Regions from separate parts of the Homo sapiens genome. Here regions 1, 3 and 4 are each linked to region 2. The links are contacts of gene promoters, found by promoter capture Hi-C in blood cells and fetal thymus (Javierre and others, 2016). All regions are on one chromosome and are shown on one strand. The core of a region is centred on a gene start or on the middle of the fragment in contact, and the rest is flanking DNA. Distances in the headings are between cores, read along the strand shown.

Region 1 (6,617 bases), core at 3,842-6,341, 550 kb before region 2:
TTCTAAGACCTGGTGTGTGTTAGGATGGCTGTCAGTTATGACCAAGCTCATGTGTCTATTCTGGTTCTAATCTGTCCCCTTACTCTAATACTTAAGATTCAAGGAAGAATGTGGCTACTCCATTTTTCAGCAGATGCTGTTCCAATTCTCACCTGACCTGGTGTACGGTTCTTTGGATCACTTGCAAGGGGCTTCACTTGCAAGAAGCTTGGTAATTTCAACGAGATTTTCTCATTTGCTATAATAAGCTTGTTGACATGCTTTGTGGCAATAATTATATAGTTTAATCCTTAATAGTCTGATTTATTACCTAAAATATGTAAGTATAATGCCCAAAGAGGACTGCCCCAGTCTTTATCTCTTAAACTGTCTGCTGGTAACTCTTATTCTGTAACAATCTCTTGAGCTAGTTTTTCTTTGCATTCCAGAGAATTATGCCTTTCTTTTACCCTGTCTACAGACCATTCTCATCTGGCAGATAATTAATATATTAAAGAATCTTATTCCTTGTAGTGTTTTAAAATCATCACTTCCTAACAACTACACAAGCCATTTCTTCAATTTTGGAAATGAAGCAGACTATGTGGTAATGCAAAAGGTGTTTAATTATGTATAAAACAGATCATAGTTGCAAAATGATAAAGAAACTAGAGGCATTATAGTAAAATACTGCAAGGAAAAAACATGATTAAAAGTGCTGCAAGCTAATAACAAATATATTACAAAAATACTTAGATTGACAGAACTCTTTAAAGAAAATATCAGTCATTGTTTCTAAAAGCCAACTGATTACAGTTGATCAAAAGCTTTGACACCAACCAGTGCTAGGTATGAAGAAACAATTTTTTCTCAGAGAGCCTTTTTTAGTGCTTTATCAAGTATAATCTGTCTAATATCTATCTGCAGAAAAGTGGCGAGGCATTCCCAAGACTTTCTTGGATTCGTGCTTTGATGCCTAAAATTTAAACTTCCCTGGGTGCGACCATAACATATTTTTTCATCTGTTGATTATAGTGATTATAACTTTAGGACAGCATAACTGTTTTTATTTCCTTTTCAATTCAATTTTCTGATTGTAATATTCACTCTATTTTGTTGACTAAACTAGATCAGATTAATTTTCATGGCAAAAGAAGTGGTACAGTGTATGAAAATATTTTCTGTTTTGTTATGTTATAAAGCACTACCCAACCCAATATAATCTCATAAAGTTTAGTATTAAAAAGGCACCTCTAATCAACTTTTCAAAATAATGAATTAATGTGCCTAAAAATATAAAGAATGCTTCCAGCATGAACATGGCCATGAAAGTCACCATTTTCCCCTTTTCCTATGGGAAAATACAGAAAAGCGACAAGAACAAAACAAAACCTGAAATCTACATTTTTAGTGAAACTAGGAAACAAATATATTCCAGACTCAAATCACATTTAAGGGAGTCTAAAGAAAAAAAAATTACATTACTACTGGCAGCGTATAAGAGGTCTAGTTCTTCCATAACCTTACCAACATTTGGTATGGTCAATGATTTCAATTTGATTCATTCAAATAGATGTGTAGTTCTATTTTGTTATAATCTTAATCTATATTGTGCTAATGCAGTGATGCCGAACACGTTTTCATATATTTATTTGCCATTTAGCTATATTTGTTGAAGTATCTATAAAAATATTCTATTTCAAAATTGAGTTGTTTTTCTCAGTATCGTGTATTGTTAATTTAAATTTTGCTAATCTGGTGGTAGGCAGTGGGGGGTAGTACTGTTATCTCATTAAGACTATAAGTAATATTTCCTTAACTGTAAAAAAGTTAAAAACATTTTTAAAGGTTTATTGGCCTTTCTGACACCTTTTTGGGCAAATGCCTATTCATGTTATTTTGCCCATTTTTTTCTGTTAAATTTTCTCTTTTTATTGATTTGTAGGCATTCATTGCATGTTATGAATATGAGTCTTTGTTAGCAAATGTCTTCTACTCTGGCTTGTCTTTTAGTAATTTTATAGCACCATTGGATGAACAAAATTCTTACTTACTTTTTTAAAAAGATTTTTTTGTAGAGTCAGGATCTCGCTATGTTGTCCAGCCTGTTCTCAAACTCCTGGTTTCAAGTGATTCTCCTGCCTCAGCCTCCCAAAGCACTGAGATTACAGTGAGCCACCACACCTGGCCCAAAATTCTTACTTCTAACATAAGCATGTTTATTGATCTTTTCCTTTGTGGTTAGTGCTTTTTATGTTTTATTTCAGAAATATTTTTTTTCCCAAATATCATGAATATATTTCCCAATGAGGTTTGCGGCAGTGCACAGTGGTTCACGCCTGTCATCCCAGCACTTTGGGAGGCCAAGGCGGGTGGATCACGAGGTCAAGAGATTGAGACCATCCCGGCCAACATGGTGAAACCCCATCTCTACTAAAAATACAAAAATTAGCTGGGTGTGGTGGCGCATGCCTGTAGTCCCAGCTACTCGGGAGGCTAAGGCAGGAGAAGCTCTTGAACCCAGGAGGCAGAGGTTGCAGTGAGCCGAGATCACACTACTGCACTCCAGCCTGGGTGACAGATTGAGAATCTGTCTCAAAAAAGAAAAAAAAAAAAAGTCCTTTTCCACTGCTCTACACTGCTTAATTCAATGCTCACAAATGCATGACTGTTTCTAGGTGCCCTCTGCTGTCCCACTGGGCAGCCTTAGTTATTCTATATTGTGTTAATGTTACTAAGTCTTGATATCTGGTAAGGATATATGCTAACTTGTCATATTTTACAAACTAATATGTAATATGTGTATCATTTTGCTTTTTATTCCTTCATGCATCTCACATCTTCCATGTAGGGTCATTTTATTCTTATTACGTAAATCCTTTAGGGTTACATTTTAGTGCGGTTTTGAAGGTGGTGAACACTCTTATTTTTCTGTGTATCTGAAGATGCCTTTATTTTACCTTCACTTTGGATAATAACTTCACTGGCTACCTATCTTAAAACTTCGAAGCTAGTATTCTACTGACTCCTAGCATCCTTAGTTGGCATTATGAAGTTATCAAACTGCTGTTCTTTTGGAGGCAGTCCATCTTTATTTTTCTGTTGTATTTAACATGTTTTCTTTGCTTAGGCATTTTGCATTTTTGCTATTGTGCATCTACATGTTTGTATATTTTTTAATTCAAATTTTATTGAGAGAATTATTGATTCAAATGTAGTTATAAGAAATAATACAGGCCAGGCGCAGTGGCTCATGCCTGTAATCCCAGCACTTTGGGAGGCCAAGGCAGACATTATCACAAGGTCAAGAAATCAAGACCATCTTGGCCAACATGGTGAAACCCCGTCTCTACTAAAAATACAAAAATTAGCTGGGCATGGTGGCACACGTCTGTAGTCCGGCTACTTAGGAGGCTGAGGCAGCAGAATCACTTGAACCTGGGAGATGGAGGTTGCAGTGAGCTGAGATCGCGCCACTGCACTCTAGCCTGGCAACAGAGCGAGACTCTGTCTCAAAAAATAAACAAATAAATAAATAAATAAATAAAAGAAAGAAAGAAATAATGCAGAGACTGGGTGCAGTGGTGCCAACACTTTGGGAGGCTGAGGTGGGAGGCTGTCTTGAGCCCAGGAGTTCAAGACTGATCTGGGCAATATAGTGTGACCCCTTCTCTACAAATAATAATAATAATAAAAACTATTAGCCAGGCGTGGTGGCACATGCCTGTAGTCCTAGCTACTCAGGAATCTGAGGCAGGGGGACAGCTTGAGGCTGCAGTGAGCCATAATCGTGCCACTGCCCTGCAGCCTGGGCCACAGAGTGAGAGTCTGTCTTTTAAAATAATAAGAAAGAAAGAAAGAATGCGGAGATATTTTGTGTACACTTTCCTATTTTTCTCAATGTTAAAATTTTGTAAAACTATCGTATAATGCCACAGCCAGCATTTATACAATCTACCAATATTATTCAGATTTCTCTAGTTTTACTTGTACTTATTTGTGTGCATGCGTGTGTTTAGTTATACACAATTTTATTACACGTATAAGTTTGTGTGTCTACTACCTAAATCAAGATAAAGAATACTTCCAATACCACAAATATCCTCCATTTTGCCCTTTTATAACTACATCCATCTCCCTACTACAGTCTCCTGGCTCTAAGGGGACAAACTATAAAGATCAATTTCTACTCATATTATTTTAGATCTTCCCATATTAGTTTAGATACTAAGAACATGTCTATAAGACATGTTCTGTGTCTTTTAGCATGTCTTTTGCACTTCCTATCTTTTTGTCCCCTTCATGCTGCAATCTGAAAAGTTTATTCTAACCTATCTTCCAGCTCACTAATTTTCTTTTTAATCTAGTCCGTTGTTTAATCTTTCCACTGAGTTCTTAATTTTAGTAACAGTTTCAGGATGAGAAGATTGGTTTGATTGTCTTAAAATCAGTAACACTTTTAAAATAACTTTCTGTTTCTTTTCTTTTCTTTCTTTTTTTTTTTTTTTTTTTTTTTCTGACAGGATCTCCCTCTGTCCCCCAAGGCTGTAGTGCAGTGGTGCGATCTCAGCTCACTTCAACCTCCGCTTCCAGGGTACAAGCGATTGTTGTGCCTCAGCCTACCGTGTAGCTGGGACTACAGGCACGCACCATGACCACTGGCTAATTTTTGTACTTTTAGTAGAGATGGGGTTTTACCAGGTTACCCAGCCTAGTCTTGAACTCCTGACCTCAAGCAATCTGCCTGCCTCGGCCTTCCAAAGTGCTGGAATTACAGGCGTCAGCCACCGTGCCCGGCTTAACTTTCTGTTTCTTAAGCTCGTTTTGTTGATATATATTTTTAGCTTGTAAGCATAAGTTGTTTTATAATATGTCTGTTAATTTCAGTATCTGAATTTTTATGGATCTCTATTGTCTGTTTTCAAGCAAGGGCTTCTTTACTTCTGGTTCATGCTTATTCTGAGGATATAGCTCTTTTCAGACTCTGCAGTTAGGTAGAAACTGATTTTGGAAGTGTGTTCCCTTGTATCAGGATGCTGCCAAAACCACAGTTCAGTTTCACAGTTGTTTCTTTCAATAGATAAATACCCTCTGGGCAAAAGCAAGTTTTAGTTTGGGACATAAGTCTCTGAATTTTTAGTTTATCCTAGATTTAGCCAGGTAATTTTTTACTATCTTGTTAGCTCACTTACGCTTTTCAGAAATCTTTGAAACATTTTATCTAGCTTTTTAAGTTGTTATTTCAGGATGTTGTGGGCCCACCATACATTATTCTGTATTATTTTAAAGTTTGAATCATGTAAAATAGTATGAATTTAGAAATTACACATGCACACACCCCCACACCACACACAGGTTGAGGAAGGACTCTGAAGATGTACTTGTGAGAATAGGAAAATTTGGGAGAATTTTATCAAAGCTATCCACACCATAATACTCTGTAAAATCAGCCACACAACCATGGAGTCTGTGTTTTGTTATTTACTTTTGAGGCTTAAAAAAAAAGATGTACAGATTGCCAAAACTTCTTGGCACAAATACAACTAAAACACAGAATGCAGCTTGGGGTGAAGGAGAACAGATTTATTTTCCATATTAATCACATAAGTTCATTTACTACTGAATGTTTCTAAGGCAGTTGAATTTAAAATAATCTATCGGGTTTTTTTTCTTTAGTTTTAAAACTGTGCTTTCAAATTAGCTAAAAGGAAAGATGATAATGGGTAGTGTTACATTCAATGTGTCTTCACTAGCGTGCTGAGCTCTGGAAAAGTCACTAAATGGAGTCTAGGAAGGTAAGAGAGTGCGAGCAGAGTCCTACACAAGAAAGCTCATGCACTGATCTATAATCAACTGAAGACAGGCCTCTATAAGGCAGTAACAACTTCAAAAAGCAATAGATAAGTGGATCTGAAATGAGGCCCTTGGTCAGCAATTATGCCTTAAGCAAAGAGTTATAAATTATAAGCTGCTTGAAGAAGGAACAATTAAGATAGCACTAATAAGAAAAGATAAAGACACCCCCAAAAAGCTGAGGGGAAAATAACAAGAGTATATATTTGACAAACATGTTCTTATTTACTACCCTGTAAATAAAACATCAATTTAGGTGGTTAGTAGTACTGACGGAAAAACAGTAAGATATTTTCATATCAAAAGAACTGTAATTTCAATGAAGACAAAAGATGATTCAGGATATCTATAAGTCCCATCGAACACTGTCTGCAAGAAAAAGATCATCTGTGAACAGACTGCAAATTCTCTCACATCAAGCTGTACTTTAAGATATCTTAACCCTGTACATACAGCAATCTTAGAAGGTCAAGAATAGTAAAGATTGGTGAGCTGTCATTATGATGCTGTTTTTCTCTTCTCCCCTCACCAAAAAATGGCTTCTCCTGTACCAAAAAGACATTTTAGAAATTACAGATGGGTTAACTTATTCAGAATCAGATCTACTCTGAGAGCCTATGGAATATCTTATAGGAAATGAACTAATAAAAGTTTCTCTTAGTTATCACATTTTGAATATGAGTTTTCCCTCCAGCACTTACTGAAGATAGTTTTTTTCAATTATTTTCATTAAATATTGAGTAGATACAAAAATACTTATAAAATATATGTAAAGTACAAAAATA
Region 2 (7,071 bases), core at 2,121-4,620:
TCCATAATGGCCTATTTTCTTCCAAGCAGTATAAATCACAGACTATCAGTATTTTCTATTTGACTAATTTATGCACACGAGCTTTCATCTTACACTAATCCTCTTTTATGCTTATTTTCCAATGGCATCTTCCTCCCTCATGTTTTTCTCAGTCTCCCCAGTTGACATTTTTGGTGTTTCCACAAAATGCCAAGCACCACGCTGCACATAGCATTTTTCCTGACTTTCCATAATGATGGCCCAACTTCAGCCAGGCCTTGATTATAATTTTCCACATGATGCTTCCTGGCACTTTCTGAAATTGCCTGATAATGACTCTGCATTGTGTTGACAGAAATAATTCTTGTTAAAGCAGTATCCTATTAGGGCTTCCACTTAACCTGTTTGTGCAGATTTCTGGCCTGGGATTCTGACTGAGTAGGGCACCCATTCCTGTCATCCTCTATTTGTAACAAAATCTGAGGGTTTTCTTTAATGTTAAGAACAAAAGGATTTATTGAGAATGACTGGATCTAAACTCTAGAAATTTATTCTTCATATTTAACTCTATATTCAGCGTAATTGTTGGAGTAATTCTATGCAAAACCCTACAAAGGGTATTCAGTAGGATTCTAAAACGCACTTTCAGTACTTCCTTAACTTATTGGTAAAAACCATTACCTGAAGAAATTGTCTCAATTCTGATCCATAGGTGTCTTTTTTCTTTAGTTGTCCAGGTTCTTTATTCAGTCCCTCAGGCATCTTCATTCAAAGACATATCCTACTCCTCTGCTGTGTTTCATATGTACTCTTGTCCCCCTAAGATCTGCTTCTCCTATTGGGTGGAGAGTGACCTCTCAATCTCTGGTTTCAGACCCCAAGTGACTACGTTATTTCTTGGATTTCTGAGAAGAGTTGTGTCTTAGTTTGTTTGGACTGCTATAAAAAACATACCATAAACTAGGCAGCCTATAAACAACAAATATTTACTTCTCACAGTTCTGGAAGCTGGAAGTCCAAGATCATGGTGCTGGAAGATTCTGTGTCTGGAGAGGGCCCACTTCCACGTGATGGAAAGGGCGAGGTTCCTCTTGGGTCTCTTTATGAGGGCACTAATCCCATTTATTAGGGCTCTGCCCTCATAGCCTAACCATCTCCCAGAGCCCCCACCTCTTAATACTATCACTTTGAGGGTTAGGGATTTAACATATAAATTCTGGGGGGACACAAACATTCAGACCATAACAGGTTGCTTCTTCCATTACTTTTTGTGAAATGCTTGTTCTTAGTTTTTAGTGACGGGGAAATGCTTTTCTATTTTGATAAGACTGAAGTTCCACCTGGCTTTCTACTCTAATCCAAGTGCTCTTTGTATTATAGAACAGGATTTCTGTCAGATTTCTCTAGGTTCTGTCCCATGGTTTGTTGTTACTCTACAGTGATAAGGAAAATTATATTCTGTTTCTGTTGGTGGATAAAATAGCTTCCTGCTTGAGCTCTGAATGGATTTCATCTCCTCCCTTCCAGCAGAAACTGAGCTGCCAAATGACCTTCGAGTGCTGCCTTAACCATACCTTTTGGCTTCTGTAGATCCAGGTTTCATTGAGAAACCCAGGGTTATAAACTGGAGCCCTATATTTTGTTTCATCAGCAAAGTGTGTGTGCATGTCCACATTGATACTTTAAAATGAATCTGAATGCTGTATTAGTTATCTATTGTTACATAGCAAATTACCCTCAATTTAGTGGTTTGAAATAACACATACTTATAATCTCACAGTTTCTATGGTCAGGTATCCAGAAGCAGTTTAGCTGAATGGTTATGGCTCAAAATCTCATATGAGGTTGCAGTCAAGCTCTTGGCTGGAGATGCTGGGAGAGGACCCATTACCAAGCTCAACTGAGCATTTGCTAGCAGGCCTTTTATTTCCTTGCCACATTATTCACACCCTAGGTTGCCTGAATGTCCATATGACATGCAGCTGGCTTCCCCCAGAGAGAGCTGAGAGAGTACGCAGAGAGAAGCTGCAGTCTTTTATGACATAAGCTCAGAAGTGTTATGCCATCGCTTCTTTCATGTGTAAGTGGTCACAAAGACCAACCCTGTACAGTGTAGGCAGGGACTATACAGGGGGGTAATACCAGGAGATGAGGGCCACTGGGGACCATGTTAGAGTCAGGCTACCACAAATGCCTTCAGATAGATTATGTCTTTTAAATTGCAGATTTCAACCAGTCCCTATTGTCTTTCCAGGAACCCAAACCACCAATTCCCCATTCCTTTCGACCTCTCCGTTACCTACCTGCCTTTAACGACATGGGTTTATAACTTCTGGTCTAACCATTTTATGTCCAGTATCCTTTGTATTATATCTCAAAAAAAAAAAAAAATCCTGGCCTCAACCTATAGCTACGCAATTATATTCCACTCTTAGTGCAGACTCTCAAAAGGAATATTAACAAAATATTGAGTATGTGATTACTGCAGCAACAAGTTAAATAAAATGAGGAGGCCAGGTGCGATGGTTCATGCCTGTAATCCCAGCACTTTGGGAGGCTGAGGGGGATGGATCACCTGAGGTCAGGAGTTCGAGACCAGCCTGGTCAACATGGTGAAACCCTGTCTCTACTAAAAATACAAAAATTAGCCAGGCGTGGTGGCGGGCACCTGTAATCCCAGCTACTCAGGAGGCTGAGGCAGGAGAATCACTTGAATCCAGGAAGAGGAGGTTGCAGTGAGCTGAGATTGCACCCTTGCACTCCAGCCTGGGCGACAAGAGCAAGACTCCATCTCGAAAATAAATAAATAAATAAATTGAGGGAGCAGGACATGAACTAGTCAGTTGCAAAACCAAAGTGTCATAACTTCTAACGCAGCTCTCTTTCTTGTACAATGTATGGCCCCTCTTCAGCTTTTCAAGAGGTTGAAGATATGTTCTTGGTTGCTTCAAAGGGCAGAAGCAGAACTAAAAGGTGTGTGATACCAATATTTAGTTCAATATAATGGCAGCTTAGCACTTAGAGACTCCACAGCAATTGAGTGGATTCCATAATTGGAAGCATTCAAATCAAAGTTGGATGATCAACAGTCAGGAATTTCTGGAAGCTTAAGGAGATCAAACCAGAAAACCTCTAAGAAATTTTCTTCCAAATCTGAGTTTTTATAATCTGCTCTTCTGGACCAATGCAAAGTATCTTCCTTAGCCATTAACTCGTATCCTCACTAGCAATTCTATACTAAGAAATAGAAGAGGAAAGCAAGGATTGGCTGAGGAATGCCAGGAGTGAGTTTTCTGTCCTTACCCTAGTTTCACGTCTCTTTGATACCGAGAAAAGTGCTACCCGCTGCTTCTTGCCTCTCATTCCTCCCACTGTTTCTTTTCCACTTTCACTGTCAGCCATAGTCCTTTCTGTCCTAAGAAGTGTATCAGGTGTGTCCCACCCACCATTGTGAGGTTTATGTGTGTGCTCCATAGCGGCTCATTCTTAGAACTTGAATAAGCCCTCCACTGGATTTCAATTCATATCAGAAGGTATTTGAGGGCTGCTACTCAGAGCTAGCATGTTTCTGGGCATTTAGAAGGCAGGGAGGAGGCGTGACAACTGTCACCCCAAAGAACTTACTGTTTGTCTGTAAGTTTTACCACCCCAGCCCACCTCAGTTACAGTATTGATTGGCACTGAGGGGAACAAAAGGCACCTTCCTCATTCTTCAGACTTCATAGTTTTCAGAAATAACCTGTGGGTGACGTCCAAAATTCGCACAAAATAAGCACAAAATTAACCATTACACAAATCACAGAATTTAGCCCATATTTAAGAGAAGCACTTTTCAGCTGCATGGTGATTTTTCCTTCATATATCTCAAATTATTTCCTTCAAAGTCACACTTAGTTGTCTGCTGCATAAACAGAAACCAATATGACACAATTTTAAAATTATATTTAATCGCTTTCATGGTGTGCTCTACTTGGTAAAGAAGGGGGGAAACAAGGTTAAGTAAAGGCCAGGATCCTTTTTCTGCAATGGATGACTGACATGGGAAAGAGATGAGTTACCCAGGCTTTGCTTTTTGCTACCTGCAGTATAAAACTCCCTGACATTGTCCCAAATTGCTTTTACAGGTATTTTATTTTCAACATCTAATTTGTTCGGCTTTTCTTCCCTTGCCATCTTTTTCTTCTTTTGCCATGTATAATGCATAACAACAATTTCTGAACTCCAAAAGCATAGAAACCTCAGAATAACATTACCTGGGAAAAATTAATCTCTCTACCTCCAGCTACCAAGAGAATCATTTGCACATGAAACCCTGAGATTTGCGTCTTTCATTAATCTAATGCAGTAGCAATTGTTATACCACATCGTTCTATTGGAATTGATGACTAATCATTCCCAAAACTCTTTTGAAACTATTGTTCCCATAATTTTGTGTTTTGATTGAAAAATGTCATGACCCTATATCTCTTCATGTTATCTGTTGCATAGCTAACCCTCTCCCTCAGATTTAGTGGCTTAAAACAGCAACCATTTGTTTAGCCCACAATTCTGTTAGGCAGTTCTTCTGGTCTTAAGTGAACTGACTCATGCTCTGTGTTCAGCTGCTGTGTTGGCTGGTGCTGACTGGACTAAGGTGGTCTCAGTTAGAATTACTGCTCTTTGCTCATGTGGTCTCTCATCCTCCAGCAGGCTGGGCTGGTTCACATGGTGGTGGTGGGTTCCCAAGAGCAGTACATTGATATCTGAAGGCCTCTTGAAGTTCAGGCTCAACCTATCACAGTATAATGTCCACTATGTCCTGTTGGTCAAAGCAAATGGCAAGGACAGCCCACATGCAAGAGACAGAGAAAGAGATTCCACCTCTTCATGTGAGAAGCTGCAAGTGTCGTGGCCAGTATTGCAATCTACCATCCCAGCCATTTAAAGCTTATTTGCTTTTAGTATTTTCAACATCCTGTTGGTTCTATGAAGACAGTGTCAGTGTCTAATTGACTTTTTTATTTCTCCCTGTAGTATCCTTCACTCAAAGAGCCTAAGAAAGAAAAGGAAAATAGCATTGTTAGCACCTCATGTATCGAGGCATTGGCTAGACATTTTCTATGAATTGGCTCATTTAATACACACATAGCCATTTTGCAGATAAGGAAATTGAGACTCAGAAAATGTAAATAACTTGCCCACATAATTCAGTCTAAATGCCAAAACTGGGGTTTGAAGTTGCACTTAGGTCTAAGTTCAAAGCTTTTTATGTTCTACCATGCATGCTGCTTAGCATGTTTTCTTTCATATAATTCATGCTGCTAATGAAACAGTATAAACCAGCTGTATGTTAACTGCTAGTGAAATGATTTATTGTCTTCTTTTTCAGTAAATATGGCAAGTCTGCTCAATTTATTCCCTTTATCATTGCATACACTACAAATATTCTCTCCCTATACCTTCACATGTCAATTAAGGTATGCAACAGTAATTTCCATTTTTTTTAAACAATGCTTATGTTACCATCTCTAGACAAGTTAGTCCAGATGATTTTGGGGTTAACATGTTGGCATTTCCTGGCACTATTACTGCTAGCTGAATAAGAGTTGAAAGTTGGGGAAAAATTTACCAGATCTGTATTAGTTTTTTCGCACACTGCTATAAAGAACTACCTGAGACTGGGTGATTTATAAAGAAAAGTTTAATTGACTCACAGTTCCACAACCTGTACAGGAAGCACGCCTGGGATGCCTCAAGAAACTTACAGTCATGTCAGAAGAGCGAAAGGGAAGGAAGCGTGTCTTTACGTGGTAGCAGAAGAGAAAGAGACAGAGAGAATGAGAAAGTGAGAGTGAAGGGGGAAGTGCCACACTTTTAAACCATAATCCACCCCCATGATCCATTCACCTCCCACCCAGTCCCTCCCCCAACATTGGGAATAACAACTCAACATGAGATTTGGGTGGGGATACAGAGCGAAACCATATCAAGATCTATTTAGAATTCTCCAGCAGATTTGATTAACAATATAGATTTGTGATTCTGCAATTTGTAGGGTCATTATAAAACATGGCTGCCTTGATTGCAATCAGATATCTCTGAATATGGTTCAAAGGAAACAGATCTCGTTCTTGTGGAGATAGGATTACATAACTCCCTCTCAGTCATTTTGCCATTGATTCAGAATGTTTCTCCCTAAGATGAAGTACTGTTTTAGCTTAGAATGGTAACAGCAATTCATCACCAGGCACAGTGGCTCACACCTGTGATCCCCACACTTTGGGAGGCCCAGGCCTGTGGATCACTTGAGCCCAGGAGTTAGAGACTAGCCTAGGCAACATGGCAAAACCCCATCTCTACAAAAAATGTAAAAATTAGCTGGGCATGGTGGCACAGGCCTATAGCCCCAGCCACTTGGGAGGCTGAGAAATGGGAGGATCTTTTGAGCCCAGGAGGTTGAGGCTGCAGTGAGCCATGATCGCATCACTGCACTCCATCCTGGGCAACAGAACAAGTCCCTGTCTCAAAAAAAAAAAAAAAAAAAAAAAAAAAGCAATTCATTGATCTCATCTAGTTTGACTAGTTCAATTATACATGTGAGAAGGCTATCTGAGATGATGTCAGGTGTGGAGCAGTGACTATCCCAGTGATCTGAATGTGATTGACCACTTGGCTTCACCAGGATTATCTCACTGTTTGGTTCTAATAAAGGCAGTCATTCTAGTCTATGAGTTTACCTCCCTTTTGCTACAAACACTTCAGTGATATACTATTGAAACTATAAAAATCCATAAAAATTGGTTTTTGTATGTGAGTTTTAAAAAATTGTTTTCACCAGGCTGTGAGTTTTATGTCTTTGTTTTCTATTGGGATACTAATAGTGCTATGACTATAGTATGTTCTCAAGGAAATTCTTATGAAAATTGAATTAATCCGACACAGTGCATGGTTTTGGAGTAAAACAGAACTTGTTTTAAATCCTAGTTCCCCCACTAGGTTGGGTGAGATGAGACAAACGACTTAACCTCACTGCCACTTTAATTTGTTCTCTCTCTCTCTTTAGGGTGGTAGAAATGATACCTACCTAATAGGGTTACGTGAGTAATAATAAGA
Region 3 (6,955 bases), core at 3,663-6,162, 580 kb before region 2:
CAAACACTTTATGATCCCTCATGTGAGTGAGGAAATGATTCAATTTGCACATTGTTGTTTGTGATGGTGAGGATATGGCCAAAGAAAGGAAGAATTACCTAATAGTTATTCTTCCTTGGAGATAATTAAACTAAGGCAAAATGCTATAAAGGAGACTCAAATATTTAACATAGACTTACATTAGATTAATTTTAGGATTAATTCCAAATCTAAAGATGTGTGTGTATGTGTGTGTGTGTGTGTTTCAATTTATTTACTGTTTCCAATTAATACGTTTTTTAAGATTTAAAAAAATTATTATTTCAATAAACTTTTGACTTAAACCAGAACACAGGCAGAGCAAAAACAAGAATCAAGACAGTCTAGAGATACTGAAGTTGAGAAAAATATTAAAACAAAGAAAAATCAAATATGGTGACCAAGACAGCCTTAATGTTCTCCCCAGCTTAACTAACCTTTAGACAGGCTTCTTCCTGATTCTAGGCCCTGACTTCCCTTTTCTTAGAGCATTTACTTTAGAAAACTTTCAATTGTACATTCTTTCTCTGCTTCTTTGAGATGTATATTTTCTCCCAGCCTCTTGCCAGTTTAACAACCCACTAATGTCTTTCTCAAGGACCTGGGAGCTATTCCTCTGAAAGGTAATTACCAAGAAAAATAGTGCTGCTGTCTCCCAGTCTTAGAGGTGGGGAAGGAGACTAACTTTTTTGGGCACCAATTAGCAAACACAGATGGCATAATCACAGAGAAGAACATTTGCAAATTCAGAAATAAATAACTCAATGTGCTCAACACATCCCATTGATCGTCCTCCTCTAAACGTCCTCCGGCATTTTTCCACTAGCTCACTCCAGTATTTAAAAACTCTCCAGCTTTTAGTTTTAGTAGAATTTACTTCAAATTGGGGTCTCTCTTCCAATATTGCAATTGTCCTGAATAAAATCTTCCTTGCCTGTTTAACTTTCTGCAGTGCAATTTTTGCTTTGACGATGGTAGCCAGGGTAATGTCCAAGGGTAGAATGCCAGGCAAGAAACCAAAGTCTATGCACGTACTACCATCCAGCAGACATTTTTTAGTGTCTATTGGCAGTCTGCCATAGCAAGAAATATAGCATGTATAGTCTAGTAGCATAATAAGGCATTGCCACAAATGACTTTAATTCAGTTGAAAATGAGCAGTAGCTTGAGAGATCTTATTAAGTTCTATGAAAGAATAATAAAATTCTATGGTTGATTTTAGAAACCAAAGGCCCAAGAAGCGTATGTAAAACTGCAGCAAACAAGAATGAAGCAGGAAACTTTTGATATAGCTAATACAGGGGCAAGAGTCAATTACCAGGCATAAGTAGTAGCAGAGTTGTTGAGCAGATGACATAAAGTACAAGAGGTGGAAAGAATGGCAGAACTTAACTCTCCGCACCTCTTTATTACTATGTGGTCACCATAGAGATCTGTGTGTGTATATATATATATATACACACACACATATATATATACACACACACACATATATACACATATATATATGGTCTATGTGGTCACCATAGAGATAATATATATCATACACACACACAAACACACACACACACACACACACACACACACACACACACAGAGATATGTTCCAAAGAGCTGGAGAACTAGGGTGATCAGTTGTCTGATTTAATAGTATAAACAGTAACAACAACAACCAATAATAGACAGGGCCATGCCAAGTGTTTCACATACTTTACATCATTTAATTCTTCCTGAAATCAAGTGGAGAAGATACTGTTATTATCCTTACTTGGTAAAGAAATTGAGCCTCAGAGAAGTCACACAGTCAGCAGAAGCTGAGTTGACATTTAATCTAAAGCTGATTACAAAACCCATAGTCTTATATAATTAATCCAGTGGTCCTCAAATCTAGCTAAATATTAAAATCACCTGGAGTTCTACTGAAAACATCAATATCTGAGTCCTTTTCCTGGAGATTAAGATTTAATTGGTTTGGTGGGTTTGGGGAGAGAGGGGAAGCAGGCATTTGTATAAAAATGTAAAAAATAAAATTAACCTTTCTCAGGGTGACTGTAATATGCAGCTAATGTTGTAAACTATTGCGCTAGGCTATTCTGTTTCTCCTCCTACCATTTGTGTGGCAGAAATAATAGCATAAATCAATACCAGCAGAGACCAAACTGGCTTTTCACTGCTTCCTCACCTCTAATTCACCTTAGAAAATAACAGTCTGGCTTCCACACTCACCATCTGAGGCAGGAATTATACAGGGTGGTCGCAGAATAGAAAATTCCAGGCAGCAATTGCACATGACTAAGTGAAAGCAAACTGTTGAAACAGCTACAGAAGCTAAGGACTGATAAGACCCTGAAAAACAGGGTGTGGACTGAGCTGGCTAAGACTGACTGGACCCAACACGGCTTTGGATTTGAGCTAGGTTCCTCCTAAGACCTCATTATCTACTCATTGACAAAACTAAATCACACACCCGCCAGTGCCACGACAGTTCCAAGAATAGCCACATGGGGTAAAATTGAGTGTCACCACAGTTCTGAGAAATCTCCATTTTTTTCCAGGAATTTCATGAAGAGTCCACCCCCTGGTTATAGAAATCCATAAATCTAGAAACCCCAAACTCTATTGCATGACTCTTTCTTGAGTACACCCATATTACCGTCTCCCGAGTATGTACTTTAGCTTTGCAATAAATCTCCATACTTCCACTATTTTCTGACTCATCCTTGAATTCTTTCTTGCAATGATGTCAAGAGACTGGACATTGGCTGTAATCGAGGTCCCACTGGCATTTGAGGACATCCCACAGCGTACCAGTATCACATCCACTTAGACTACAACATGCTGCTAAGACTGCCAATTAGCTCCATCCTGACAAATCCACAGTCCTTTTAATATTATATCTTCCTGCATTATTTGACACTAATTAGAGAATCATTCTTGAAACTATAACTCATTTTGTAAAATAACTTACCTATGGAACCATCCTGTGCTTCTCACTGGATTTTCTTCCTTGGCCCATCTCAGTAATTTAAGTATTTCTCAGGTTTTCCCCAGGATTCCATATTCACCTGCTACCTTTCTCATTCAACACAATCGCATTCCTGCAGAGTTATCTCACCCACTGCACATTATCAACTACCTGCTAAGAAGAACAAACTCCACATTCCTATCCCCAGCCAAGTCTCTGTCTTGGGCCTCAGTTCTACATATCCAGATGCCTATCCCAAATATTTCCACTTGATTCATTGTGGACCAAGGGTGCCTGGACCTTGGGAGTTAAAACCCAGGAGCCATGGGTCTTCTATTTTATGCAGGACCTGTTCTTTTATGCATTGTGTAGGGGGCATGGTGATCACTTACTCTTCAGTTCCTGAGAGTGAAATAAACCCACCATGTCTTCCAGGCACACCTCTAAAGCCTCAAGGCGTTTGTCCTGTTGATGTCAAAGCAAAAGTTTACTAAGAGTATTATTTTAATAGAATGTTAAAGAAACAGAAATTAGGAGAAGTGTATCCTGCCAGGTCCTTTGCCTGTTTCCAGGTTCTTCTATACACAATTATTCTATTGGGACCAAAAGCAAAGGAAAAATTGCTTGCAATCATGGTTGGTTTGCTGTTTCCTTATTCTGTCTCTTTGTGCTGCTAACTATAGCTAGAATACAATATTCAGGATTTTTTTCCACTTCAAATATTTAAGAAATATAATTTTTTCCCAATTACTTAGTTATATATAGCTGATATATTTTTCCACTTTTTTTCTCATTTCTGAGATCACATTTTTAAAAATATGCTGACTTCAATAGAGACAAATTGTCAGTTATATGTTCCAATTTTAAGATAAATTAATGTTCATTAATTTTACTACATAAGGTGAAAATACACTGAAAGAAATCACTATATTATTAGTTATTTAAAATTTTATAGCATTCTTAATAGTTACAATATTTGTGATGATAGTGATAATAACAGGTAAGCTATTTTCTTTAGTGACACTTTTTTGATAATTTATATTGTCTATTACTAAAATGTTCATCTTAAAATTTTTTCTCTAATATATCAGAACACAAAAATATTATAGCACCCCTTTGGTTACTTTTACTAGAGTTATGAATGAGTAATAATTTAAAGTTATATAAATTAAGTATCTGGCTCAATAATTAAAGTCCAAATTTATCAGTTACAAACCCAGGAGGTGCATGCTCAATATTAAGTAATAATTATATGGATTACATGGATAATTATATAGATGAGTGCACCATTTCATTTATAATAAAGTACAAGTGCTTTGCAATTTATATTAAGACAAAAATCCAATTAGGAGATTTGCAAATATAGTCATTCTATTACTGAATATGTTAACTTTATTATATGAAAATCATTTCCTCAGTGCTAAATTATTAAATCAATTTCGGTTACAATTTCCTTTTGCTTACAAATTTATATGTATACTGTGCATACTTGACCTAATAATAGTCAACAGATTATTCCTTTTTGCTTTATGAGTTTAACATAAAATATCATTTTTACTGTGCTCTGTGTAAGACTTGCTGAAACTTTCTATGAACACAGAGATTCTCTAAGATACTTTAATTTTTCATTTCCCATTTCAAACAAAGCTCTAAACTGGGAACTTTAAATAAGATGGTTTATAGTCTAATTTGTGATAGAAAAATTTGAGTCAGATGAAATCTATTTATTGCCTTTTTCAATATTAATCATTTTATAGATAATTAATAGGGAAAACACTTTAGTTTCATGGGTAATTTACTGCTAAGAATATTCAATAAGTTATTCAATTAAGTATGTAATAGGTACGTTTATACAAAATCAAGAAATGAATTTTACCTGTTCTTTCAAAATGGAAGCAAACTCTAAAATTAAAAAGTCTTGTGATCAATGTGACTGACTGATGCGCTCCAGTTTATTCCTGAGTAATAGTTTTAGGAAGAAACCAGAACTACCTGTACACTATCCCTGGTCAGTCCTAGCAGTCAGGTATTTGGCCAGTGCCCACGTGGCCTTCTATGACCCACAGACAATTTCATTGACTACCAAGGAGTCTGCCAGACAGTTTTTTCCCTATAGCTTGTGGGCCACAGAAATGCCAGTGCAGACAGAAATACCCTGAACTGCCATCACAACTTCTCTTTTTGGTTATCTAGCAGGAATAATCACATGAAATTAAGTCTCCAGTCTCCACCCTTTGTCTCATATTTTCCCATCAATGCTATCCGCATTTACCAACAGTGGAGAATTTCTAGTTTGTTATAGAGTTCAAACATTAAAAACAATAAAATAATTAAATCAGTGGAATTTTAAGGGTAAAACCAATAGTATTGGTTTCCATGTGTATAGGTTAGGATTTTGCAGTCACACGCCAAGGAAATGGATTATCAGAAGATTATCCTATGGCTCTAATTAGAAGATATGAGGAGTGATATGCCTCCAGTTTGTGAGACCGAACACTGAGATTGATAAATTCATAGTGTTCTCTGAGGAAATAGAGGTTATTTGGAGACCTCCATCAATTTAAAAAATGGCAACAATGTGAGTGCTCTGAACTCAGTCTCTGCAGATATTCATCCTTCAGGCTAAATCCCCATTCTAGGGACATCCTCCTGGAAGTTAGGGACCAGATCCGTCTAGGTTTCTTAATGTTTCTTACAGCACATTTCTTGTACAATGGATATAGTGTGATGTAGTGACTAAGAACACAAATAAACTTTGGAGTCAGAAAACACTGATTTGATTCTCTGTTATACCACCTATTAGTTATGTGATACCAGGAAGTTTACTTAACTTTTATTAACATTAGGTTTTTCCTGGTTATAAAATGGAAACTATAATGCCTAATTGTAAGAGTTGTTGACAGAATCAGTTGAGAAATCCTGTGCAAATAAATTTGCATTATGCCTTGTATATAGTAAATATTGAAATAGTAGCTAGATTACAAGCATCTTTATATTCTTTGATTATTTCTAAACTCTTTAGAAGGTAATGGAGTAGAAAGAGAAGAGAATGAGCCCTTCTACCTTAGTGTCTTAAGTTATAGCTTCCTTTCCTCCAATGATGTGTATCTTTCTTGATTTCCTAACAACCATACTAGAGGGTCCCTCTCACTCAAAGTACATGATTTTGTAAGTTCAAAGTTTTTTTGTGTGAGATTGTCCCTTTAATTTCCCCACACCTTTCTCTGATATCTTTTCTGTGGAATATATGGAATGGTTGAGGACAAACTTTAATCACATCTCATCTGTAAAGTTTTCTAACCCTTTCAGAAGAATTACTAGCTTCCTCTCTGGCGTTTCCACAAATAGCATAGTATTTACTTTATTATCTTTGGTTAGTTCCATATGCATCTCTTTCCCTTGATAGCATGTAAGCTTCTTGGGGGTAGAAACCATAGCTTGCTCATCCTTATCAAACTGAAAAATGTAAAAACCAGCTTTAAAATACAATGCTTTTGGAAAACAAATACTGAGAAACTTACTGGTCAGCAAGGTCAGTTGCCGTTTGGAGAGCCACTAGGGATGGAAAAGTATGGTCAGATATTCTGTTCGATTTTTAATAGAAATGCCACAGTGAAAGTGACAGGCATTTAAGAGCCCTCCTGGAGCATCACATTTTGAATGCTGTTTTAGAACCCATATTTGCTCTTGATATCTTGTTGTTCAAGGACCATGCACAGCAGATTATAAAATATCAGTAAATTGTCTTTTAATTCATTGAATTCTTGAATTCAACAATCATTGCATTTTTCTTTTTTTTCTCTAGAAAATCAGTAGAAGATTTTTTTTTTTTTTTTTTTTTTTTGAGACGGAGTCTCGCTCTGTCGCCCAGCGGTGCCATCTCGGCTCACTGCAAGCTCCGCCTCCTGAGTTCACGCCATTCTCCTGCCTCAGCCTCCTGAGTAGCTGGGACTACAGGCGCCCACCACCACG
Region 4 (6,802 bases), core at 2,616-5,115, 530 kb before region 2:
CTCAATACTCTCCAAATAAACTCCTTTTAATTTAATTAATCAGAGCCAGCTACTGTTGTTCTCATCTGAGAACCAAAACCAAAACGAAAGTCAATGCCAGGAGCACTACAAGGAAAAAAGGGCCCAGTCATTTACAGCCTGGGAAGCCAGTGACTCTTGATAGACACTATAGGCAGGTAGTTGCATGCTAGATCTGGGGTATAGACAATGTGCCAGCTGAGGTTGGAATGTTAGAGCAAATGCTACCAAATTTTCAGAATATTTGTGTGTAGTAGACTTAACTTTCTGTTTTCAGGAAATTGCTACAAGAAAGAGATGAAAACCTTAATGATTAGCAACTGTTCTATTTCTAAGAAAGATATGTTAAGTCTTCCACTGTAATTGTTAATTTGTCAAATCCTTCTTGTAGTCCAGTGTATGCTTTATATATTTTGAACCCATATTATTTCATCCATACAAATTTAGAATTGCTGTATTATCCTGGTGAGTTGAAACTTCTATCATTATGAAATGCCTCTTTAATCTCTAGTAATGCTTTCAGCCTTAAAATCTATGTTGTCTGATACTGGCATGACCATGTCTTTTTCTATCCTTTTACATTCAACCTTCTGTATCTGTGAATTTAAGGTATGTCACTTGGGTAATCAAGGAGGTGGCCTATGGTAGACGTTGCTGGTTGTCTGTCTGTTCCCCATTTGTTTACATGGTTCTCAATTATTTCCAATATATTCAACTAAAATAGTTCACTTTCCTTACCTTACTTGCAGTTGTGGTTGGTCATGAGATGGTTCTGGCCAATAAGCTGCAGGTAGAGATTCATCAGGAGGACACCCTTTCTGAATAACAAGCAAAGTCCATTTTTCCCTTGAGCTTTTCCCTTATTCTCACCTGGAATTTCATACATAATGTTTGGAAACATAGCTGCCACTGTTGTGACCGTAAGGATGAATGACACATGCTAAGCAGGTGAAAGTGGCAAATGGAAAAAGTTAGGCCTTACGTCCTTGTGGAGGCTTGCCTGCCTGACTCTTGACTCAAGTCTTCTCTGCTTGAAACAAATAGGCCTTACTTAAACCAGTGTTTTGGGGAGGGGGTCTCTATTAGCAGCTGAACACATTCTTTTTTTTTTTTTTTTTTTTTTTTTGAGACGGAGTCTCGCTGTCTCCCAGGCTGGAGTGCAGTGGCGCAATCTCGGCTCACTGCAAGCTCCGCCTCCCGGGTTCACGCCATTCTCCTGCCTCAGCCTTCCGAGTAGCCAGGACTACAGGCGCCCACCACTACGCCCGGTTAATTCTTTTCTCTATTTAGTAGAGACGGGCTTTCACAGTGTTAGCCAGGATGGTCTCGATCTCCTGACCTCGTGATCCGCCCGCCTTGGCCTCCCAAAGTGCTGGGATTACAGGCGTGAGCCACCGCACCCGGCCCACATTCTTAAGATACAATTGTAATGTTAGGATTCAGAATCTCCAGGAAAGGGGTATCTGTACACCTAGAAATACCAGGTTCAGTTAGGGAAGTGACTCTGTTCTTCTCTCCTGTGTTTGAAGCCAGAATGATCAGTGTTTATGGGCCTTTGCAGATATATCTTCTTCTCTTATATGTGGCTGTTAATAAAATTTCTAAATAGACAACCCTCTATTCCTAAAAGCATTTTCTAATTTGGAGAGATATATGGTTTTGTGGTTAAGATCACAGTTTCTGGAGTCAGCGATTTTTCATATCCTGTTCATATCCCCACTTTTTGGTTACTGCTTGTGTGATACTGAGCAATCTCTTAATGTTTCTGAGCTTATCTCCACATCTTAAAAATGGGGAGAGTAGTAATGCCCATGTCATATAGTTGTGGCAGGATTAAATGCAGTTCTTCAGAAAAGCATGTAGGAGAGTGTATATTGACTTTTTTTTTCCATCAAGAGTTAAAATTTAAAACTTGGAACTATTTTAGAATTTCTGCATTGGTTGAAAGAAATTTAAACTCCATTCAAACTCTAAAATTCAACAGCTCTGTTAAATATATGAGGGTTGTGTGATGGAGAAAATCAGAACAAAAAGTTTAAAAAAAAATAGAATGGGAGAGGGAGGCTGAGTTTATTCAGATTCATGTACATGTATGTTTCTGTATATTTACTTTAATATAACTTAGCTTCGGAACTACTAAAAACATGATAACTCATAGTCTGAGTGATGTTGGATTTGCCAGTTATGTTCCTTTACAAGAAGATATCTTAAAATAAATAAACATTCCAATATGTTGTGACTCTTAATTTTTTCTCCTAATACTTTTCTTGTTTTCTCCATAACAAAGCTGGAAGCCATCCATAAGTGTTATTTAACATTTACAGAGCAACTAATAAGTGCAAGGCACTGGCATCTATTATACCATAACACATTATTGTCTCTCATTTTGAAAATGAGAAAACTGGGGAACTGAGAGACTAAACACTGCATCCAGATTTACTTGTATGTTAAATAGGGTTATTGGGATTTAGGTTAATCCGTGTAAAATCTCTGATTTTGTCAGTATAATTCAAAACAGAAAACAATTTTGCACAAGTTTAATCATTTTTTAAGACAAAAAATTAGAACATCGTTCCAGGAGTATTAAGGAAATAGGAGTACTTTCATAATTCAAACTTGAAGAGTAGCGTTATTTTTCTTAAAGGAATGACTTTCTTTTCCAGAACAAAGAAACTTAAGGACCCCAGTAGATCAGTGAAGATGGAAATAAATGCAATGTTTTGAGGATTTATGTACCCATGAGCTTACAACCAAATTGAATATGAATATGTATATACATAAAAAATAAATACTACCTATGGAAAACCTATTTTTGATTTAGCAGATTAAAAACAAGCTTTTCCAAAAGAGAGGTAAATTTATTCAATAAGAAAATTCATTAAGCCACTTCTGGCCTTTTATTATCTTCAAATTCTAACAGATTTCCTTCTAACCAGAGACCATTGTTATACAAGAAAATTGTTAGCTGCTATAGTACATTCATATATTACTATATGATATAGTACATTCGTATATTACTATACGATATAGTACATTCGTATATTACTATACGATATAGTACATTCGTATATTACTAACTGAAGTAAAAAAATGTCAGTTTGATACAGCTCTTCTAAGGTTATGAATGTGTATTTTTATTACATTTCTCAAATATGATGCAGCAAACCACAATGGAAACACTTGCATTAAAATGACACTCAGACCAAATGTTCATGCTTGAATCTCTCATAAAATGCCTCTAATGAAGTGGTGAATAGGCATCTATGAACTCTAGTTATTTTAATTTGCTAATTGATATTTTATTACCACCTTAATCTAAAGAGCCCTTGTATAAATTTATATGGAATTAGATAAAATTATAATAAACCTATAGTGTCATTTGAGGCATCTATATTCCAATGCAATCAAGAAAAAAAGTCTCAGAAGAGCCCTCAAAACCCTGAACCAATTAGCCATTTATTTGTTCTCTGGATTTTTTGCTGCCTCTTTCATTTCTATCCTATAGTAGAAGCAGGAAGTTATGTTCATTTTTAGGTATACAAAAATACTGTTATTATTTTAACCTTCTAGAATATTGCAAAGTCTGACATGCTTACTTACCTGTTGACTTTCCCTGGTTTTGTATACATTGAAAGATTTTACTTTAAGTGGAAAAATGTTTTCCATATGAACATCTAGCATCATTTCCCCAGGTGTATTATAAAAACTAAAATTCTAAATATAGAAATAAATGGTACGTAGACCAACAAATATCACCAAATGGCAGCAAGCAACACTTCCCACCTCAATACCTTCAAAGGCTGACCTAAAAAGTTTGTTTAAAGCAGGGTTTCTCAACTTTGGCAATATTGACGTTTTGGGCAGGATAATTCCTTTTTTGTGGGGAGCTATCCTGTAAGTTGTAGAATGTTTAGCAGCATCCCCGGCCTCTACAACCTGGATGCCAGTAGCAACAGTTTCCCACACCCTCCCCCATACTATGTACTAAGCCAACCAGAAACACCACCGGACATTGCAAATATCATCTGCGGGGCAAAATTACCGCTGTTGTAAAGAAGTAGCTCCAGATGAATAAATGTTTATAAAACATATTAGTTGGTTTGGGGTTGTCAAGTTTTAGGTAATCTTTCTATCATTCCATGTTATGTATTTAAGTCTGCTCTAAAAATATTTTAAATCTTTCGAAAAAATACAGTAAACTATGGCATGAATTAGGTAGGGATAATGTTTGTTCTACAGTTTTAACATAGGTGGTAGGAACTCAGCAGTTGTAGGTTGGATTGAGGAATGGATAAATTAAAACAATTCTCATTAAGGGAATGAGATAGGGGTTTGGTCTAAACTCAAGCATGATTAGTCATGACCCAGCTAGCCACTGCAGAACTGAACACTGACAGCCCAGGCAAGGGGTCCAGGCAAGGGCTGGGGAGAATGGCCTCAGCATCAGGTGTGGGCAGGAAATAGTCTGCTAGGCAGAAGAGTGTATTCTTTTTTGTAGAATTATGCACTAGCAGGTTATTCAATGTGTATAACACAGAAATGCTGGAGCCAAGATGACATCCAGAGGTTCAGTAGGTAGGCAGGCAGGCAATTGACATTGTGGAAGTAGGTAAACCTGTAACAGGACCCTAGTCACCATTTTAAGATATGGGTCAAGACTTCAATTCCTGAGAGATGACTGAAACAAAAATGAGTATATCCCATGATAGTGTACTGTTAGGCGGCAGAGATAAAGCCTTAAGCATAGAGATGACTTTAGTATATTTTCCAGAATTGAGGTTCTGGCTGTACTCATAGTCTTCCCTTGTACTGCATGAGTAGATTCATGGCAGTTTGTATGCTTTAGTGGGCAATATTTTAAAGCTTAGATTGCAATTATATTAATACATATATATGTGTTTATATATGCACTCACTAAACTACACATACATGCATGCTCTTGGCTTTAAAATATTCAAACTCTGCCAGGTGCCATGGCTCACACCTGTAATCCCAGAATTTTGGGAGGCCAAGGGAGGAGGAGTTCAAGACAAGCCTGGGCAACATAGTGAGATGCCGATTCTACAAAAAATGAAGGAAAAAAAAAAAGCTAGATGTGGTGGCTTGACACTGTAGTCCCAGCTACTCAGGAGGCTGAGGTGGGAAGATTGCTTGAGACCAGGAGTTCAAGGCTGCAGTGAGCTATGATCACAGCACTGCACTCCAAATTGTGCAACAGAGTGAGACCCTGAGACCCTGTCTCTAAAATAAAAAATAAAAAATAAAAAGTATCCAAACTCTGGAAGATTAATTTGGAATAGAAACACCATTATTCTGAGTAAATGTGATCCCATAATATAACCATATGAAAAATGTAATGAGAGTTCAAGGCTGTTTTCTAACAGAAAGACCTATAACAAAGATCCAAAATCTCAGTTCAAGGGCTTTATAGTGACCACAAACCTTGCTGTCCTAGTACCTCCCTGATAGAAGTGTCATCAAGGTACTCCCAACCAAATCATGAGAAATAATGCAGATTACCAGGGAGGTCGAGGAAGTTCTAGCTATTCCAAATTTTCCCATATATCCCATATAAGTCATCCTGAAGATATCCTCAAGAGAATCTTTGTAAAATTCATTCCTTTGGCTGGGCGTGGTGGTTCATGCCTGTAATCCCAGCACTTTGGGAGGCTGAGGTAGGCAGATCACGAGGTCAGGAGTTTGAGACCAGCCCGGCTGATATAGTGAAACGCTGTCTCTAAAATACAAAAATTAGCCGGGTTTGGTGGTGCGTGCCTGTAGTCCCAGCTACTCAGGAGGCTGAGGCAGGAGAATCGCTTGAAACGTGGAGGTTGCAGTGAGCCAAGATTGCACCACTGCACTCCAGCCTGGGCAACAGAATGAGACTCCATCTCAAAAAGTTTAAAAAAACAACTCATTCCTTTAAGAATTACAGCCCAAGGGCCCATAATCTGGGATTGATTAGCTAGGTTTTTAAAAATTATTTCCAAGAGTCTGTGAGCCTCAAAAGTTGTAATTGTATGCAAAATTATACGTTTTTTAAAACTTTTTTGAAGGCTTTCATCAAATTCTCAGACCTCTGCCGTTCAGAAAAACTTTAGAATCATAAATTCACAGATATTCTAGAATAATGAATTCAACAGCTCTCACCAGACATCTGAAATATCACAGATATTTTAGAATGAAAGGATTAAATATCCATTACCATTTGAATATTGCTGTTAAAAGTAGAATGATATGCAAAACTCTATACATTAAGGTTTACTTTGTTTAGTTGTATCTAGTAGCCCTTAATAAAATATACATCTATGACTGCATAGCCTGGTACACTATGAGACATAGTTGCTTTCATCTGCTTTTAAACTTCACAAATAGTCACCTGAACGAGATCATCTGCAAAACTTAAAGTTTCTCTTCTGGGTTATCTCAAGCTTTATTCATATAATCCATTTTTTTTTACAAGTTTACATTACTTTTTTTTTTGTATCTGCTAAATTTCAGCTAAATATTAACAATTATGGAAGCTAATGTTTCAGAGAATTAATCAGCTATTATTTCAAATTGCAGGCTAAATCACAAATGGAACCCAAGCTAAATCTTGTTATACATAAATATTAGTAGTAGTTAACATTTACTGAGTACTTATTATGTGTCAGCACTAAGATAAGACCTTTACATAAACTATTTTAGCTACCCCAAAAGTCCTGTGATAAGGATATTATTATCCTCACTTTAAACATGAAAGAAACAAAGACTTAGTGAGATTTGGTAATCAGCCAGGAAT

Evidence for each region. Contacts are between HindIII fragments. The CHiCAGO score rates a contact against its expected background, and 5 or more counts as called.
Region 1: a contact is called between a fragment that was not itself captured here and the fragment with the promoter of KCNQ5-AS1 in region 2, in 11 of 17 cell types (M2 macrophages, naive B cells, M1 macrophages and 8 more). The highest score is 10.9, in M2 macrophages.
Region 3: a contact is called between a fragment that was not itself captured here and the fragment with the promoter of KCNQ5-AS1 in region 2, in 3 of 17 cell types (naive CD4 T cells, naive B cells and fetal thymus). The highest score is 8.5, in naive CD4 T cells.
Region 4: a fragment that was not itself captured here is called in contact with the fragment with the promoter of KCNQ5-AS1 in region 2 in 16 of 17 cell types (M2 macrophages, total B cells, M0 macrophages and 13 more); the score reaches 21.6 in M2 macrophages.

The regions. Positions count from the first base shown.
Region 1 is chr6:72,583,788-72,590,404 of GRCh38, forward strand. No RefSeq gene overlaps it. Among named protein-coding and RNA genes, the nearest start is that of KCNQ5, 35 kb to the right of the region's middle. The HindIII fragment of the contact is 8,574 bases long and covers 805-6,617 here.
Region 2 is chr6:73,140,144-73,147,214 of GRCh38, forward strand. KCNQ5-AS1 (KCNQ5 antisense RNA 1) reads right to left here and starts at 3,371. Exons shown (of 5, transcript NR_046621.1): 1 at 3,283-3,371. The region is part of intron 10 of KCNQ5 (potassium voltage-gated channel subfamily Q member 5); the gene reads left to right. The HindIII fragment of the contact is 1,820 bases long and covers 3,084-4,903 here.
Region 3 is chr6:72,558,679-72,565,633 of GRCh38, forward strand. No RefSeq gene overlaps it. Among named protein-coding and RNA genes, the nearest start is that of KCNQ5, 60 kb to the right of the region's middle. The HindIII fragment of the contact is 2,965 bases long and covers 3,431-6,395 here.
Region 4 is chr6:72,606,224-72,613,025 of GRCh38, forward strand. No RefSeq gene overlaps it. Among named protein-coding and RNA genes, the nearest start is that of KCNQ5, 12 kb to the right of the region's middle. The HindIII fragment of the contact is 2,027 bases long and covers 2,853-4,879 here.